2 separate regions of the Homo sapiens genome follow, and region 2 is linked to region 1. The links are contacts of gene promoters, found by promoter capture Hi-C in blood cells and fetal thymus (Javierre and others, 2016). All regions are on one chromosome and are shown on one strand. The core of a region is centred on a gene start or on the middle of the fragment in contact, and the rest is flanking DNA. Distances in the headings are between cores, read along the strand shown. Region 1 holds the start of WDR64 (WD repeat domain 64). Region 2 overlaps FH (fumarate hydratase).

What was found. Contacts are between HindIII fragments. The CHiCAGO score rates a contact against its expected background, and 5 or more counts as called.
Region 2: a fragment that was not itself captured here is called in contact with the fragment with the promoter of WDR64 in region 1 in 4 of 17 cell types (monocytes, activated CD4 T cells, naive CD4 T cells and 1 more); the score reaches 6.5 in monocytes.

What each region holds. Positions count from the first base shown.
Region 1 is chr1:241,650,305-241,654,849 of GRCh38, forward strand. It overlaps WDR64 (WD repeat domain 64), which reads left to right and starts at 1,977. Exons shown (of 28, transcript NM_001367482.1): 1 at 1,977-2,325. The coding sequence starts at 2,181. The HindIII fragment of the contact is 1,763 bases long and covers 739-2,501 here.
Region 2 is chr1:241,510,859-241,515,403 of GRCh38, forward strand. It overlaps FH (fumarate hydratase), which reads right to left. Exons shown (of 10, transcript NM_000143.4): 3 at 2,745-2,855; 4 at 1,109-1,285. Among named protein-coding and RNA genes, the nearest start is that of FH, 6.6 kb to the right of the region's middle. The HindIII fragment of the contact is 1,460 bases long and covers 1,378-2,837 here.

The sequences.
Region 1 (4,545 bases), core at 727-3,226:
TCTCAACCACTGTCATCTCTTACTTGCATTACTGAAATTTCCACTTAACTGCCTTCCCGGCTTCTACCCTCTCTCCCTTTCAGTTTATTCTCCGCAAAGCAGCTGGAATGATTCTTTTCAAATGCACGTCAGATCATGTCACTGTTCTGCTCAAAAACATCCCATCTCAGAGTAAAAGCCAAAGTCCTAAAACAGCCAATAAGATCCTACGTGATCTGGATGCCACCCCCTGACTCTCTTGCCTTCTCTCTCTACCTCTCTCTCTCATCCCACACCACCTCAGTCACACTGGCCTCTGTCGTTTCTCAGATATGTGAAGCACACACCAATCTCAGGACTTTACGCCTGCTGTCCCTAGAACATCCTTCTACCATTTATCCACATGACTTGCTACCTCACTTCTTTCAGGTTTCTGCCCAGAAATCTTTCTATTAATGGGGAATTCCCTGATCTCCCTACCTCTTTTACTTTGATTTTTACCCCCACCCTAATACACACAAAATTCCTCTCTCTTCGTAGCACAATTGCTCACTGATACATTATTTATTTGTTTGTCTGTCTTCTGCATTAGTCTATAAACTTGAGAAGCTATTTTATTCACTGCTGTATCCTTAGTGTCTAAAACAGCCTCTAGCATGAAGTGTGTATTCAGTAAATATTTCCTAGATGAATTAATGGTGAATGCATTAGAATTGTAGGAAGAGTGGTTCTCCAGACATCACTGTACAGTGGTTTGAAAGCTTTAAAGGAAAAAGGAGGAGAAACAAATGGGGTTGGGGGATTTTTCTTTAAATAAAATCTTACTGCGCTCTCCTAACAGATAGTTAGAGGTGGACACCAAGAAGACAGTACTGGAATTGGAGGTGCTCTGAAATGCCATCTGCTTCATCTCTGAATGCAAGTTCTTGAAGAATGTTTTAAAAGATGGACTACCAAGGGGTAGGAAATTTATCTAACTCACCTAAGCCATAGGAAGTTAACTAATTGTTGAGAAACATTAAACAACTTCTCCTTCCCATAAAAAGTTGAAAATTGGAAAACCGGAGTCAATAGCATTTGGACTAAGTCGGATTGGAGATTGCAATGACTGGGAAGGAGATGTGCAGAAAGGCCTCTTCTAATTCATCTGACCTCTTACCTTGAAAAGCTGTCCTCATAATCAGAAGCCACTCCTTCCTTATCCTTGGCTCACTTTATTATTTCAATCGAAGGACAATGCACAAAGGAAGAAGAGCATTTGTATTCCCTATGACCTCTAAAAATGTTTGTGGTAGAAATGACAGGTGCTGAAATACATTTCATCTTTAGAAGTTCGAATTTCCATATCCAGTACAGTGGCAAGAATAAGTGTGAATATTACTTTTTTTTTTTTTTGAGAGGAAGTCTCACTCTGTCACCCAGGTTGGAGTGCAGTGGTGTGATCTCAACTCACTGTAACCTCTGACTCCCAGGTTCAAGTGATTCTCTTGCCTCAGCCTCCTGAGTAGCTGAGATCACAGGTGCCCGCCACCACATCCAGCTAATTTTTGTATTTTTAGTAGAGACGGGGGTTTCACCATGTTGGCCAGGCTGGTCTTGAACTCCTGACCTCAGGTGGTCCACCCACCTCGGCCTCCCAAAGTGCTGGGATTACAAGAATGAGCCGCCGTGCCTGGCCAAACTTTACTTTCCGCGGTATTGTGAGGAAGGCAAAAGGTTTGAGGTGAGAAGAGATACACGAGGGAGAAAGTATTACCCAGTTTTCTTACTTGTTATTTACTCATTCCTTTTCCCTCTCAAGCAGTATACACAACACACACATGTGCACGCGCACACACACACACAGTCTGTGGGGAAAAAAATATCTCAATCTCCTCCTTATGAAGGAAGTAGGATGTTACAGAGATATTATGATGCAATGAGGACCCTATGAAGGACACTGATGACATTGTGAGGTCAGGATTTTTACTGAAATGTTTGTCTGTATGAAATGCATCAGACCTAAATCAGCTTTCCTCCCTGCTAACATCCTAGTGGCAACTCTTACTCCTACCCGCACTATGGGATTTTAAGATCAAAGGAATTAGACCTAGGGCAAAAACTGAGACAGCAGGGAGGCACTGTAACAACTGGAAAGTTTTCCAAATTGGTAAACTTGCAGTATTCTTTCTGTACAGAAGTAAAAGATCCCCTATGTCCCTATGGATATCAGGAAGGAAAAGCGTCTCAACATGGCACTTCAGATGAGCAATTTCAAAAAGGCTTTGAACAGGTTTGAAAAATTGGTTGAACAAACAGCAGCCCAGAAAAGAGATGAAAGAGCAGGCTTATTTATCCATAAAGAAGGTAAGATCAGTGATTACACGATAGTCCAATTGGGTCTGTTGGTTAGAACTGGAAAATGTTTTAAGCCATCAGAGAGAAGCATCAGAGCTTAATGTGAAAGAATGGGTGCTGAAAGGGGATGAAGACCTCAGTTCTTGTTCTTTCTCTGTCCCTAAATAACAAAGCGGACATGAGGAAGCTTTTGTTTTGTTTTGTTTTTGTTTTTGTTTTTTTTTTTTACTTCTCTGAACCGAAGTTGCTTCAATTGTAAAACTATGGGATTGGATTAAATGACGTCCAGTGTTCTTCTGTAGACGCTGCCATTTGATGGCTCACTGGTTGACCTGGGATGCTCAGTAATGTATAGCACTGCTTTTTCTTAGCCTAAAGATATCATGAGACCATAAAGACTTTCATAAGAAGTGCAGCTTCCTGCCTCACCATGATTCCATTGTCTTGGCCACTCTCCATATCTCTAGGCAGGAATGATCTTGAGGATGCAAGCTAAGGAGAATATGGTGGACAGTGGTCTTACAGGAGGATTTGCAGCAGAGATGCCAGTGCATAGACAAGATTCAAGGGGAGTGGTGTAGTGTACAGCTTTGGCGTATTGAGGACAGCTGTGAAAAATAAAGCTACATGGCAGAGTGAAAGACTAACAGAACAAACCCTGCTGTTGCAATGAAAGGAGCAGAGCCCATATAATTGCTAAAGGGATAGTATAGCCAGCCTCTGAGTGTGCCAGGCTGCATAGTAATTTGTAAGTGAAAATCTTGACTTTGGGTGTTCAAACCCAAGCTGGTATTAATTGAATAGTATTTAATAATTTATAGTCATGTTAATCAATGTCATTATGTTCATTTTATTTGTGGAAAAAATGGGAGCTGAAGATAAATCATTTGCCCAAGTTACCCAAATTCTTTTCTTTTCTTTTCTTTTTTTTTTTTTTTCTGAGACGGAGTTTCATTCCTATTGCCCAGGCTGGAGTGAAATGGTGCGATCTCGGCTCTCTGCAACCTCTGCCTCCCAGGTTCAAGTGATTCTCCTGCCTCAGCCTCCCAAGTAGCTGGGATTACAGGCACCCACCACCACACCCGGCTAATTTTTTGTATTTTTAGTAGAGACGGGGTTTCACCATGTTGGCCAGGCTGGTCTTGAACTCTTGACCTCAGGTGATCCACCTGCCATGGCCTCCCAAAGTGCTGGGATTACAGGTGTGAGCCACCGTGCCCGGCCAAAGTCACCCAACTTCTAAGTGTTAAAGCTAAGACTTGGACCTTTTGGATATGCTTTTTCGGTGATTGGGAACTTGACTGGGCCTTCTAAACTACTCAACAAAACTTGCATTTTTTCCTAGTCAGTTTGTTTTACCTCTCTCTAATTGGTTTTTCAAACCCTTGACACTTTTTCTGAATTCTCTATGGGATGTCTGCTTCTCTCAGCCAAGTTTTCTACGTCATAAAAGAAAGCAAGGTCAAAAGACAAGAATTCTCTCAAACCCCCCTTTTCCACTTCTGAATCACTGAAAGCAGCAGCTGTCCTTTCTATTTCTCCTCCCCTTCAAAGCTATCAGTTTGCTGCAGCAGCTTCAAAATCTCCTTTTCTACTGGATTTGTCCTCTCAGTCTAAAAATATACTCAAGCATCATGACCTTGACTTTCTCTTTTCTTTAAGCTACCACTGTATGCCTCTCCTTTCCTTCTCCACTGAATTTCCTGACAATATCACCACTTAACTTTCAATCTACTCAGGTCTGGCTTCTCTGATCACTTTGCTGAAAATGCTCTAACCAAGCTATGTGATAAGCTAATATAGTTGCCAAATTCAATAAATTGTTTTCATTTTCCAGCCTACTTGGCCATTGCACTAGATTAACACTGTTAGCTGCCTCTGCTTCAAGAAACTTCCTTATCCTGCGTCTTTCATCACATCATTCTTATTTTTCCCATCTCAATTCTTTCTTTGCTTCTTTTTCTCCTTGAGCTTTGCCTACTGTGTTCTCTCTCAGTCTTAGAGCATAGCTACCATCTAACTAGTTTCCTAAGCCAGATATCTTGGTATAGGCTGTATAGGCTGAGCATCCCTGATCCCAAAATCCAAAATCTAAAATGCTCCAAAATTCAAAACTTTTTGAGAGCTGACATGAGATAGGGGCATATTAATATTTGCTTTCTGATGATTCAATGCATACAAACTTTGTTTCATGCACAGAATTATTAAAACTATTGTATAAAATTACCT
Region 2 (4,545 bases), core at 858-3,357, 140 kb before region 1:
GGAGAAACCTGGCAAGTACCAGCTTAACCAAGTGATTAAGGTTAACATCACCAGTAAAAGTCATGTTGCTATCATGAACCCCTGATATGATGCAATGAGAAGGGCCCTTTATTTCTGTGATAGTTTTCTCAAAAATTCAAAAGTCTCAATCTAATGAGAAAACGTCAGACACACCAGAATTGAGGGACATTCTACAAAATACCTGACCACTGCTTTCAAAGTGTCAAGGTCACTGCTATGTGAAATCCTAACCCCTAGGGTAATAGTATTAGGAGATGCGGCCTTTGCAAGGTGATTAGTTCATAGGGCAAAGCTCTCATGAACGGAATTAGTGTCCTTACGAAGAGACCCCAGAGAGCTCCCTTGTCCCTTCTACCATGTGAGGACACAGAAAAGATGGCCATCTACAAACCAAAAAGTGGGCCCCCACCAAGCCAATGAATTGGCCAGTGGCCTGACCTCGGACTTCTAGCTGCCAGAACTGTGACAAATTAACTTCTTCTATTGTTTATAAGCCAGTCAGTCTATTGTATTTTATTACTGCAGCCCCAAAGGACTGAGACAATCGCAAAAGACCAAGAAACTGTCACAGATTAGAAGAAACCAAGGGGACATGTGACTAAATGTAATGTATAGCATTGATTGGATCCTGAAAAAGAACATGAGTGGAAAAACTGAGGAAAGCCTCAGTTTTTTGTTTTTTTTTTAAAGTCTGTTGTTTAGCTAAGAGTACTGTATCTATGTTAATTTCTTAGTTTTGATAAATGTACCATGGTTACATAAGATGTTAACAATAAGGGAAGCTGAGTGAAGGGATATAGAAACTATTTGAACTATCTTTGCAATTCTCTTATAAATCTAAAATTATTTCAAAATAGAGTTTTAAACAATAAAAAAATACATACACTAAATTCAGGTGTCCTAAAAATAATTTTTATAAGGATTGAAACATAAAACCAAGATTCCTTCAAGAAATAAGAACCATAAGAAGCCTTATCCATTAAATAATGAACACTTCTTGTCAAAAAGTGAATGCTTGTTTTACAAGAACAATCTCAGGTATGCTTTTCAATTTATAACCAAAAAACAGCAAAGCTCACATACTGACCTGGCTTTTATTAACATGATCGTTGGGATGCACAGGTATCTTGCTGCCAAGTTCACCTCCTAACATTTCAATTGCTCTATTGCTAATGACTTCATTTACATTCATATTTGTCTGAGTTCCTGATCCAGTCTGCCATACCACGAGAGGAAAATGATCATTTAATTTACCTTCAGCTACCTGCAGAAAAAATGTTAAAAATGTATTTTAAAAAAGGAAATAATAATGCTGATTATGCCACAGAGTTTGAATACAGTTGACCCACATATCTAAGCTTCTGAAGCATCACTTGCTCCAACCACAGATACTTTAAAAAGTGAAATATTATCTATAGTGAATGGTATGACAATTCACTGGTTTCAAATGAAAAGGGAATCAAAGGTATCTTTCTTATCTCTCTCCCACAGCCTCCTCTAACAGAGGACCACCTGTTAAGGCTGGCAAATACGTTTAGTCTCTAGATATATTTGTTGCTGGTGCTCAGCAGGAATATCCAACAGATGTTATTGCCAGAGTCAGCATGCTAATGAGCTAGTAACTTGAAAATGTGAGTTCACTAATAGCTACTTCATTGCACAGATGTCCAATGAGCAGTAATCACCAAATGTAGAAATAAACGCTGCCCAGATTTGCCCCTATTTTTGTTGTATTTTTATACATCCAGCTTATGTGTTAGTTTTTGGATGGTGTGCTTTGTAAAATATGGGTGGTTAACAATCTTCTGGAATGATTTTAGCTTAAAAAATCAGAATGCACTTGAGAAATCTATTACCTTGAACAACTGGTCCACTTTAAAATAAAACTTTTTTCTGGTTATATAAAAATATGTGATTAGTGTAGAAAATTTTGAGAACTGAGAAAAGTAAAACAGTCACTATAGTTCTATTGCTCAGTAATTATGACTATTAGCATGTTGGCATCCCCAGTCTCTATCTCATGCAATGAGGGTGTGTGTGTGTGTGTGTGTGTGTGTGTATATGAGAAACACACACTTTCTGTTCATTTTTTCCTAAACAAAATTAGGATCGTAAAATACATATATTTTTGCAAACTTTCCTCCCTATTTCTCATAGGCTAGGCTTTGTGCATGCCAATCTTCAAAAAAGTAATTTTCTATAATTTACCATATAAATATAATTTATATAAGTAGCTGTTATAGTTACGCATTGTCTAATTTGTTTTCATTATTATAAATAGTGCTGTAATTAACAACACTATATATACAGTTCTGTTACCTCTGATTGCTTCTTTAAGACAATGTTATTAGCATATTAGTAAAATTACATTCTCAATATGCATTATCAAATAATCAACTGGTTTTAAAAAGATTTATATATAAAATAAAAAATCAAGTAAAGTTCAAATGATATCTTTTCAAAAAATTTTCTTAAAACTATATAAATTAAGGAAAGTCAAAAGGCTTAAAAACAAAAGGTATAAAATCATCCAGAAATTTTGTCACAATGTAACGTTTTAAGCACCATATTAATATCACCACTAAAAATAATGCTACCACCCTCCCCTGAAATTCATTAATTCAAGAATTCACAGTTCCCCTTTCCTTCTGCCAGAGCATATCGTCATCCAGAGTATGGCATGGGTCTGAGGTTATTAAGCAAACACACTTATCACCTCCTACCTCATCTGCTGCCTTCATTATTGCATTAGCAATCTTTGGATCAAGACCATAATCCTGGTTTACTTCAGCGGCCGCTCGCTTCAAGATGCCAAAAGCTTTAATAACTGGGGTCTAAAATTAATCAGAAAAATATTTCAAATTTACAATTTTACTTAAGCATGGAAGTTTATTATTTTGGCAGATGCAAAAGCTATACATAAAACAATAACAATAAAACAGTAACACTATAGCTCTAAAATGTTTCGGTTATAGAGAAAGATTATAGACAGGAATTCATGAACCAAGAATCAACATTATCATAGATCTATTTGTTTAAGGAACCAAATAAAAACAAATACATTGACTCTTCATATATATATGTGTGTACGTCTCCCACATACATATACACACATATTCACACGAATACAATCCTATGCACAAATACACACAATAAATTATATGTGTTTATTTCATATACTATAAATAAAAACAAATTTAGTACTCAATCTTTTCACCAGCAAGAACCATTATTTTCTCTTACTGGATCCCACGTTACATTATAATTGTTTCCTTCCCCTCTTAAAAAAATAAATAAATAAGGGATATATTTAACTGCCAATCAGTATGAGACTACCAGTGACTGACTGGGTTATCATTTCACCCCAAGGCCAAAAAGCAATCTATTCTACTTAGCTAGTAAAGCCTTAATACTCAGTAACTCCCTGGACATTTCTCTCAGAAGAATTATTTTTTTAAACCCAAGATTCTCCAGACCTAAAGGTGACAGCTTCCGATATATATAAAACCCCATTAATGCAGATATTTTCATTGTCTATCCCAAATCACCTCACCAAGCTTGAAAAGGATAAACTGAAATGAAAACCTAGTTTTTATAAGACAAGTGAATTGTGAGTTCTTGTCAAAATTAATAATACAGATTGTTGTATAGATCCCACACCAGGTTTGAATGGGGAAAGAGTAGAAGGGAGAAAGGGAAGAAAGGAAGAGAATGATGAATGTATAAGAGAGAACCTGCTATCTCTGGAATCAAAGTAGAAAAAGCCAAGAAAAGTAAGAAATAAGACACATTAAAAACATAAACCTGGACCAGAGTAAGTATAAGCTGAGGGTCAAATAGAAAAGGAAAACCAGAAAATTTGAAATTTCAATTTTAAGTAACTAAAATTAAAACATTAGAAACGTTTGACTCAAACGAAATGAGGACAGATGGCACACAGGATTAGAAACTTAAAAACTTTAAACACAAAAACAAATGGGAATTTAAATCTCCACAGTAACAAACACTGAGGTAGTGGGCTGAACCACTACCAAGGGCAAAGGTGAATGCCAATCAACGCTGGCCATCTGAATGGAGTGAATGACCCCCAGTGTTTATGGACCATAAAAATAAAAAAGGGTCATTCACAGCAGAAAGAGGTTCAACGAACACCATAAAATGGCAAAATGTATCACTAGAGAGAAAAGACAGGTCACTTTATTCTTAATTTATTCACATTAGATGTTCATAATCTTTTTAGCTTTGTTTTCCTCTGGACCTCAAGTAAAAAGGGTTGAGTTTAATCATACTACTCAGTTTAGAGTACATACAGACTGTTTTACACATAATAAAGTTCAGAAAGTATGACAAAATCGAGACCCCAGGTGTCTGCCTTTCACAGGTGTGCAATCCCAATGGCTGTGCTGTCTCTGGAGCAGCAGCAGCAGGAACCATGCCCCACCAGAACCACAAAACATGCTGGTGACACAGATCAATGAAAACGGCAGCCATGCTCACTCCCACCAACACTAGCTGGGGCTGACC